Linked DNA regions of Homo sapiens: region 1 is linked to region 2. Evidence: promoter capture Hi-C in 16 types of primary human blood cells and fetal thymus (Javierre and others, 2016). All regions are on one chromosome and are shown on one strand. The core of a region is centred on a gene start or on the middle of the fragment in contact, and the rest is flanking DNA. Distances in the headings are between cores, read along the strand shown. Region 1 has its middle 3.2 kb from the start of RPS19BP1. Region 2 holds the start of MRTFA (myocardin related transcription factor A).

Region 1 (3,147 bases), core at 146-2,645, 1.1 Mb after region 2:
ACAGCAGGCCAGGCACTGGTGGCTCATGCCTGCAATCCCAACACTTTGGGAGGCCAAGGCAGGCAGATCACCTAAGGTCAGGAGTTCGAGACCAGCCTGGCCAACATGGTGAAACCCTGTCTCGACTGAAAATACAAAAATTAGCCAGGCACACCGGCGGGCCTCTGTAATCCTAGCTACTCGGGAGGCTGAGACAGAAGAATCGCTTGAACCCAGGAGAAGGAGGTTGTAGTGAGCCAAGATCGCGCCACTGCCCTGCAGCCTGGGGGACAGAGCAAGACTTGCTCTCCAAAAAAAAAAAAATAAAAACAAAAAAAAACAAAAAAAAAAAACTTCACACAGTAGCTTAATGGCAGAGCCGCATCTTTGGCTGGTCAGGGTGGAGACATTAAAAAGACCCCACCTTTGACCCCCACCCGGGGGTTACTGGCTGACCCCATATCTCCATGGATAATTTCCAGTAGCTTCTTCTGTGTCTTCATTATACCCTTAAAATCAGGCATGCCACTATTTCACCATTCACATGATTGGAAAGAAGCCACTTGGCCTCTGCCTGGATGCCCTGAGGGGGCTGCTGTCCCTGGGACTGGTGGGTGCCACCCTGAACCCTGCAGACCCTGGACGACAGAGACTCACACTTGCTGAGAGTGTAACACGAGCATGTGGGCACCGCCAGGCCCAACGGAGCCCTTCATTCACCCCAATGCCCGCCTCCTGCACGTGGAGCAGCTCCTGGTTCACGCTCAGCAAATGCTGGCTGGTTTTTCTCCTATTGGCTGCTCCGTCAGTGGTATCAGCAGGTATTTATTGACTGCACAGATGAATAAATGCCAGGCCTGGTGCTGAGCACATTTCATGCCACCTCACTGCACCTCCAACAGACCCCAAGCGCCCCCTCGAAGCTCAGAAAGGTGAGGTAGGTGCCCAGGTCACACATCTGCTAAGCGGCAAAGGCGGCGTCTGAACGGGAATCAGCGACTCCAGGCTGTCAGGTGTTACTCCCTGTGGCCTCCAACCTAACCGTGTGTGAGCACAAGAGTGTGGAAATCCAGAGGCGACATACAAGTGCAGGTCACACCCACAGATGGGGGCCCAGGTCCCACCGGCACACTGCTGTCCACAGAGCAATCACTGATTCACAAACTAGAGTGCTTATTCTGCGTCCAACGGAATTCCAAATGCTCAACCCTCGATCCTCACAGCAGCCTTATGAGGTAGGGATTATTATCATAGTCAACTCATAAACGAAGAAACCGAGGCACAGAGAGGTTGTGGGACTTGCCCAAAGTCACACAGCTAGTAAGTGGAAAAGCCAGGATGTACAGCCTGGCTCTGGAGCAAGTGCTCCCTTCATACCACAGGAGCCAGGAGCTCCGGGCGCCTCCCGCCTCGGCCCTGTATGGAGGACTGGACAATACTCTCTAAAGCCCCCAAAACCTCGGAAGAGGAAATGGGCTAGGGGAGGGAGGGCGGCTTGCCTGTGGACACACAGCTGTGTGAGCCGAGGCCTTGTGGAAACCGGGGCATCTGTGCCAGCCCCAGACCACCAGGACACCCTCTCCAGAACTGCTCACCTCCCAGAGACCCTACGGTCCCCTCTCCAGGGGGCCACTGGTCCCTGGGGGCCACACACATACTCTTGCTTAGGACCCGGAGACCTGGGCTTGAGTCCTGACTCTGTTCTTGAAGGGCTGCACAGCCCTGCAGAAAGCCACCTGCCTCTCAGCCTCCCAGGCCCAGGGTAGTTAAGCTGTTTCACGGAGCCTGGGAGGAGACATAGGGCATGGGGGCCGAAGGGCCCTTTATGGCGATGGTTCCTCTGTGTGGCCAAAAGCCTCAGTGCGGGGATCAGGGGCAGGCAGGGACCCAGTGTGGAAACAGGCTCAGAGCAGTGAAGCCGCTCATCCAGGGTCATGCCAGGTGGGGAACTAGCCTGGGAGACCTCATGACCCGCCCTCCCACAGGGAGACAGGAAGCAGCTGCCCAACCCCCCTCCCCCTCCCCCAGCTTGACCCATCAGGGCCAACGTCAAGACTGGCAGGTCGCAGGTGCCCAAATGCGGGCTGTGGGGTGATCTGCTTGGGCCCAACAGTGGCTGCCCCTGCCCATCCCGTCTTGCCCAGAGGGAGCAGGTAGCATGGCAGCGCTGTAGCACCCTCTACACGCAGTCCCTGGGCGCAGACCCACCCAGGCCCGGCCCACACGGCACGGTATTGATCCACCGGTTCTCACACCTCTCCTAGAAGGGGGATGCTGCCCTGCCAAGCCCCATCCAACCAATGAGGAAACTGAGGCACTCTTTGTTAAGGGATTGCTGGGGTCACACAGCTCCCAGCTGTCATTTGCACACTTTTCAGGAAGGGACCTCGCCCCCCGCCCTGGGCAGCCCAGCCTGGTGGCTCTGCCTCAGCTTCCCCAGCCACTCCTCCAGGCCAGGGTGAGAGTGGGAGGGGGTGCGGGACAGCAGGAAGCCGGGGCCACACGGTGCTGGCTGCAAGGAGCCAGCCGAGGCAGAAGGACGTCCGGACCCCCACCCCCACCTAGCCCGGGTGGGCGCAGCTGAGGCCTTGGAGTCTCGCCGCGTGAGAAAGCTGTCCTGCGGCGCCACCTATTGGCAGAAATGCGCCCGGCCCCGCGGATGTGCTGATAACTCCGCGGGAGGCTGGGGCAGCGCCTGGCCTGCCGTCCCGCCCGTGCCCGGCTGGGCTGCGGACGCTGCAGGGGTCCACCTGGCACGTTGGCAGAAAACTCCTCCACCCGGGGGACCGTGGGCTGATTCAGCCTAGATCGGGAGGAGGACAGAGCTTGGTCCTTTGCCCTCCTGAGAGGCTGACTCGCTGCACATCCCACGACCTCCTGGGCCTCAACCCAGCGGCTCACTGGCGTCCCAAACTCAGCTCTCATCCACTCATTTCGTGCGTTTCTGAACTCTTACCGTATGCCAAGCACTGTTCCAGGCGCTAGGGATATAACAATGAACAAAACAAAGATCCCTGCCTTGCGGAGCTTACAGTGGGGTATGGGCGGGGAAACAGACAATACGCAATACACATAATAAGTAAGACAACAATCCGGCTATGTTAGAAGCAGGAAGGAGGCATATGTCTGAACAGTCACTGGGTTCCAGGCCCCACACTCCCCTTAGGA
Region 2 (3,089 bases), core at 84-2,583:
CCGCCCCAAACCTAGAAGAACGCCCCTGACCACTTCTTCTTCTATCTACTGTTACTCCTTCCTCTGACTCTGGTGACCCCATCCCGGAAGCCTTCCGGAAAGCGCTTCCCCCTTTTCCACCCCATCGAGTTGGGGTTATTTCTCCTTTTCTGGGCTCTCTCCCATTGCTGGGGAGGAAGGCGGATACGAAGGGCCTGCATGACCGCAGCTGTCATCACAGTGGGCCTGGCTTACCTTGTTGCTCTCTCCCCTTTCGCCTTTCTCCTTTCTCCCTGTTGCAGTCATGGACTTCACTCATAATACATATACATATACATATACATATACATATACATATACATATACACATACACATACACATACACATACACATACACATACACATACATATACATGTTTTTAAATCGGGCAGCCACCCGCTCCCCGCCCTCAGCCCGGAATAGGTTCAGAGAGGTGCCCGGGTTCACTTGCGGAGCGTGTGGCCTCTGCGCCTAACGCGCGCCCCTTCACTACACGAATGGGTGCGGGCAAGGGTATAGGATTTTAGAATTCCAAGAGTTGTCGGGGGTCATCCCGTGGAATCCTCTTTTTTGCAGATGCTCTTCCTGGAGCCTTCCGATGCAAGCTCTTGGGCTCACGCAGCCCTTTTCCTCTTCTAAGCCCAGAGCGCTTTCGCTGCTGCTGATCTCCACGGCCTCGGCAGATAGGGAGGGGCAGGCAGGTGTCAGCGTCCTCCCTTTCACCGTTGGGGAAACTGACTCAGAGAAACAAGGCGACGGGCCTCGGCGGGGCGGGACCGTAACGGGAATTCAAGGCTCCAGGCCAGAGCGGAATTTATTGTGTCTCGTTTTGGGAAGCGTGAATGTGAAATGATCGACTTCGGAGCCCCAGGCGGAGACCCTTCAGTCCCCGACAAGAATCGGGATGGGGTCTGGGATTAATGCAGTAATTACTCGCGCCTGGGCATTGACCCCTTGGCAACTTCGCAAGATCCGGCAGGGTCCACCGCCCTTCCCTTCACAGGGTGACCACAGGGCTGCGGCCTCTTTAAGGCCCAGAGCTCCGCCCCCGGCTCGTCGCCAACCCCCTCGCCGCAGCTCAGCCAGTTCCAGACTTTCCTCAGAGATGAGGTCATCTCCCCGTTGCCCATTGGCTGCGCCGTGCCGTCAGTCACAGGAAGTCAGGCCGCCGTTTTCGCCTTCTTCATGCCGCTTCCTTCTCCGCCCGCCCTTTAGTCCGCCGATCACGACCCCGATCAGGCCTCTGATTGGCTAGCGCCGCCGTCACTTCTCCAGCGGACAGTCTTCAGGACGGGAGGCGGGCGTGGTGGGCGGGCCCGCAGCTTCCGTGGCTGAGAGGAGCCGGCGGCGGCAGTGTCTGTGGTGGCCGCGGCGGCGAGAGCGACGGTCCCATCTTTCCCACCCTCTTGGTTGCCGCTGGCCACACGCCCTCCGCTGGCGGCGACTTCTCAGCTCCGTGCGCCCGGGCTGGACAGTGAGCCTCGAGAGGAGACGCGGGCGGCTAGAGCCGGAGTGGGGCGAGCCGCGGAACCCGGCCGGGAGCCGCGCGAGGCGGTGAGTGAGAGTCCGGGTTGGGGACCCCTCCCCCACCGCGGCCTCGCCCCGCCTGGAGCATCCTTTTTCCCCCCCGACCCTGCTGCGCGCGTCCTCGGGGGGTCGGGCGAGGCGGCCCTCGCGTCCCCTGCCCTCTTCTTGCCGGCCTTCTGCCCCTGCCCTCGGGGCCGGAGTCGCAGAGCGGCGGTCACTGTGCCGGGGCTGGGACCCGGGCCGGGCCGGGCGGGCGGGCGCGGTCGTGCACCTGTGCACTGCCTGGCAGGGCTGTGCTGCGCGGGGCGGGGAGGCACGGAGGTCCTCGCCCTCGCTTCTCCCGGGATGTGTTTTGATTGCAGGGACGGGGTGTCGGCCGCTTTCTCTGGGGTCTTGTGCAGACCTTCAGGATCCAAGTGCAGTCCTTGGGATTCCCAGGCAAGGAGGCTCAGCTGGACTTGTTGGTGCCAGTATAGCAAACCTGAATGCTGCCAGGTGTACAGGGCTCTGCAAATCTGAAACTTGATGGCCAAGAACTTTACCTCCTAAGAAAGCGTCTGTCAGGACGCTGATGCAGTCCACCCTCCCCGCTTCGGGTACCTTTGATACTCCATAGTGCCTAGGGCTGGACCTTTTGAGTCGACTCCCAAACCTGCCACTTGCTAGCTGTGTAATCTTGTGCCTTGGTTTCCTCGTCTGAAAAATGAGGATAATAGCACCAATCGCATACGGTTGTTTGTTGTAAGTGTCGAATGAAATAATTCACGTGAAGCGTTTGACACAGTGCTTGGCCCATAGTAAGGGCCCAAGAAATGTTTGCTTTTGGGATGTTGAGAATGCCTGGTTTGCCTGTGTGCCTTTAAGCACTAGCCCAGCTTGGCATTGTCAAGATTTCTCTCTGTTGTCTCCCTGTTATGCAGCATAACGAAAGGGCAGTTGAATGGTTAACTTGCTTGCCAGCCTCTGTTTGGCATGAAGTGTGTGTATATACAGGAATGTGGAATACATCACTTAAATATAATAATGGAATTACCCCATGCTTCGTATGTTTTTACATAGTTTTAAACTCATAAGACGTCTGGAATGTCCCCGAGTTGCAAGTTTTTGAGATCTTTTCAGGGTCCTTTCTACATCAAGCCGAAGCCTGTAACGTTAAGACTTATTGTCAGTAAGAAGTTAGACCTACATGTTTTACTTCAGAAGACCCCCAAAACTCCAAATGTCACTTACGCAGTTTTACTGTTGAAAAGCAGTCATCTCCCGGGGGTGAGGTGGTACAGCCAGCTGGCCCACAGCCCTATGACTGCAGGGTGGGGAACCTTTGGCTGGAAGTTATTAAACTAAGTTTTGCTTAATGTCGTTTGCATTTTTCATAGCGAACCAAAGGGCTTTATGTTACTGTTTCTTATTGAAATGATTTAGAAAGAAGCAATCCATTACTGCGTTCTTTAAAAACACCTGCAAAGAAAAAAATATCTGTAGTTTAGCTCTAGTGTTTGTTTCAGTTTTTGGCCAATAACTATTAAGAAGAGCCCGTTTTTA

The links. The method cuts DNA at HindIII sites, captures the fragments that hold promoters and counts their contacts. A CHiCAGO score of 5 or more calls a contact.
Region 1: a fragment that was not itself captured here is called in contact with the fragment with the promoter of MRTFA in region 2 in 1 of 17 cell types (neutrophils); the score reaches 15.5 in neutrophils.

What each region holds. Positions count from the first base shown.
Region 1 is chr22:39,534,420-39,537,566 of GRCh38, reverse strand. No RefSeq gene overlaps it. Among named protein-coding and RNA genes, the nearest start is that of RPS19BP1, 3.2 kb to the right of the region's middle. RefSeq lists silencers at 2,464-2,553, 2,614-2,663, 2,529-2,823. The HindIII fragment of the contact is 4,950 bases long and covers 1-3,147 here.
Region 2 is chr22:40,634,963-40,638,051 of GRCh38, reverse strand. MRTFA (myocardin related transcription factor A) reads left to right here and starts at 1,333. Exons shown (of 15, transcript NM_020831.6): 1 at 1,333-1,574. RefSeq lists enhancers at 1-259, 999-1,308 and a silencer at 1,569-1,878. The HindIII fragment of the contact is 6,464 bases long and covers 1-3,089 here.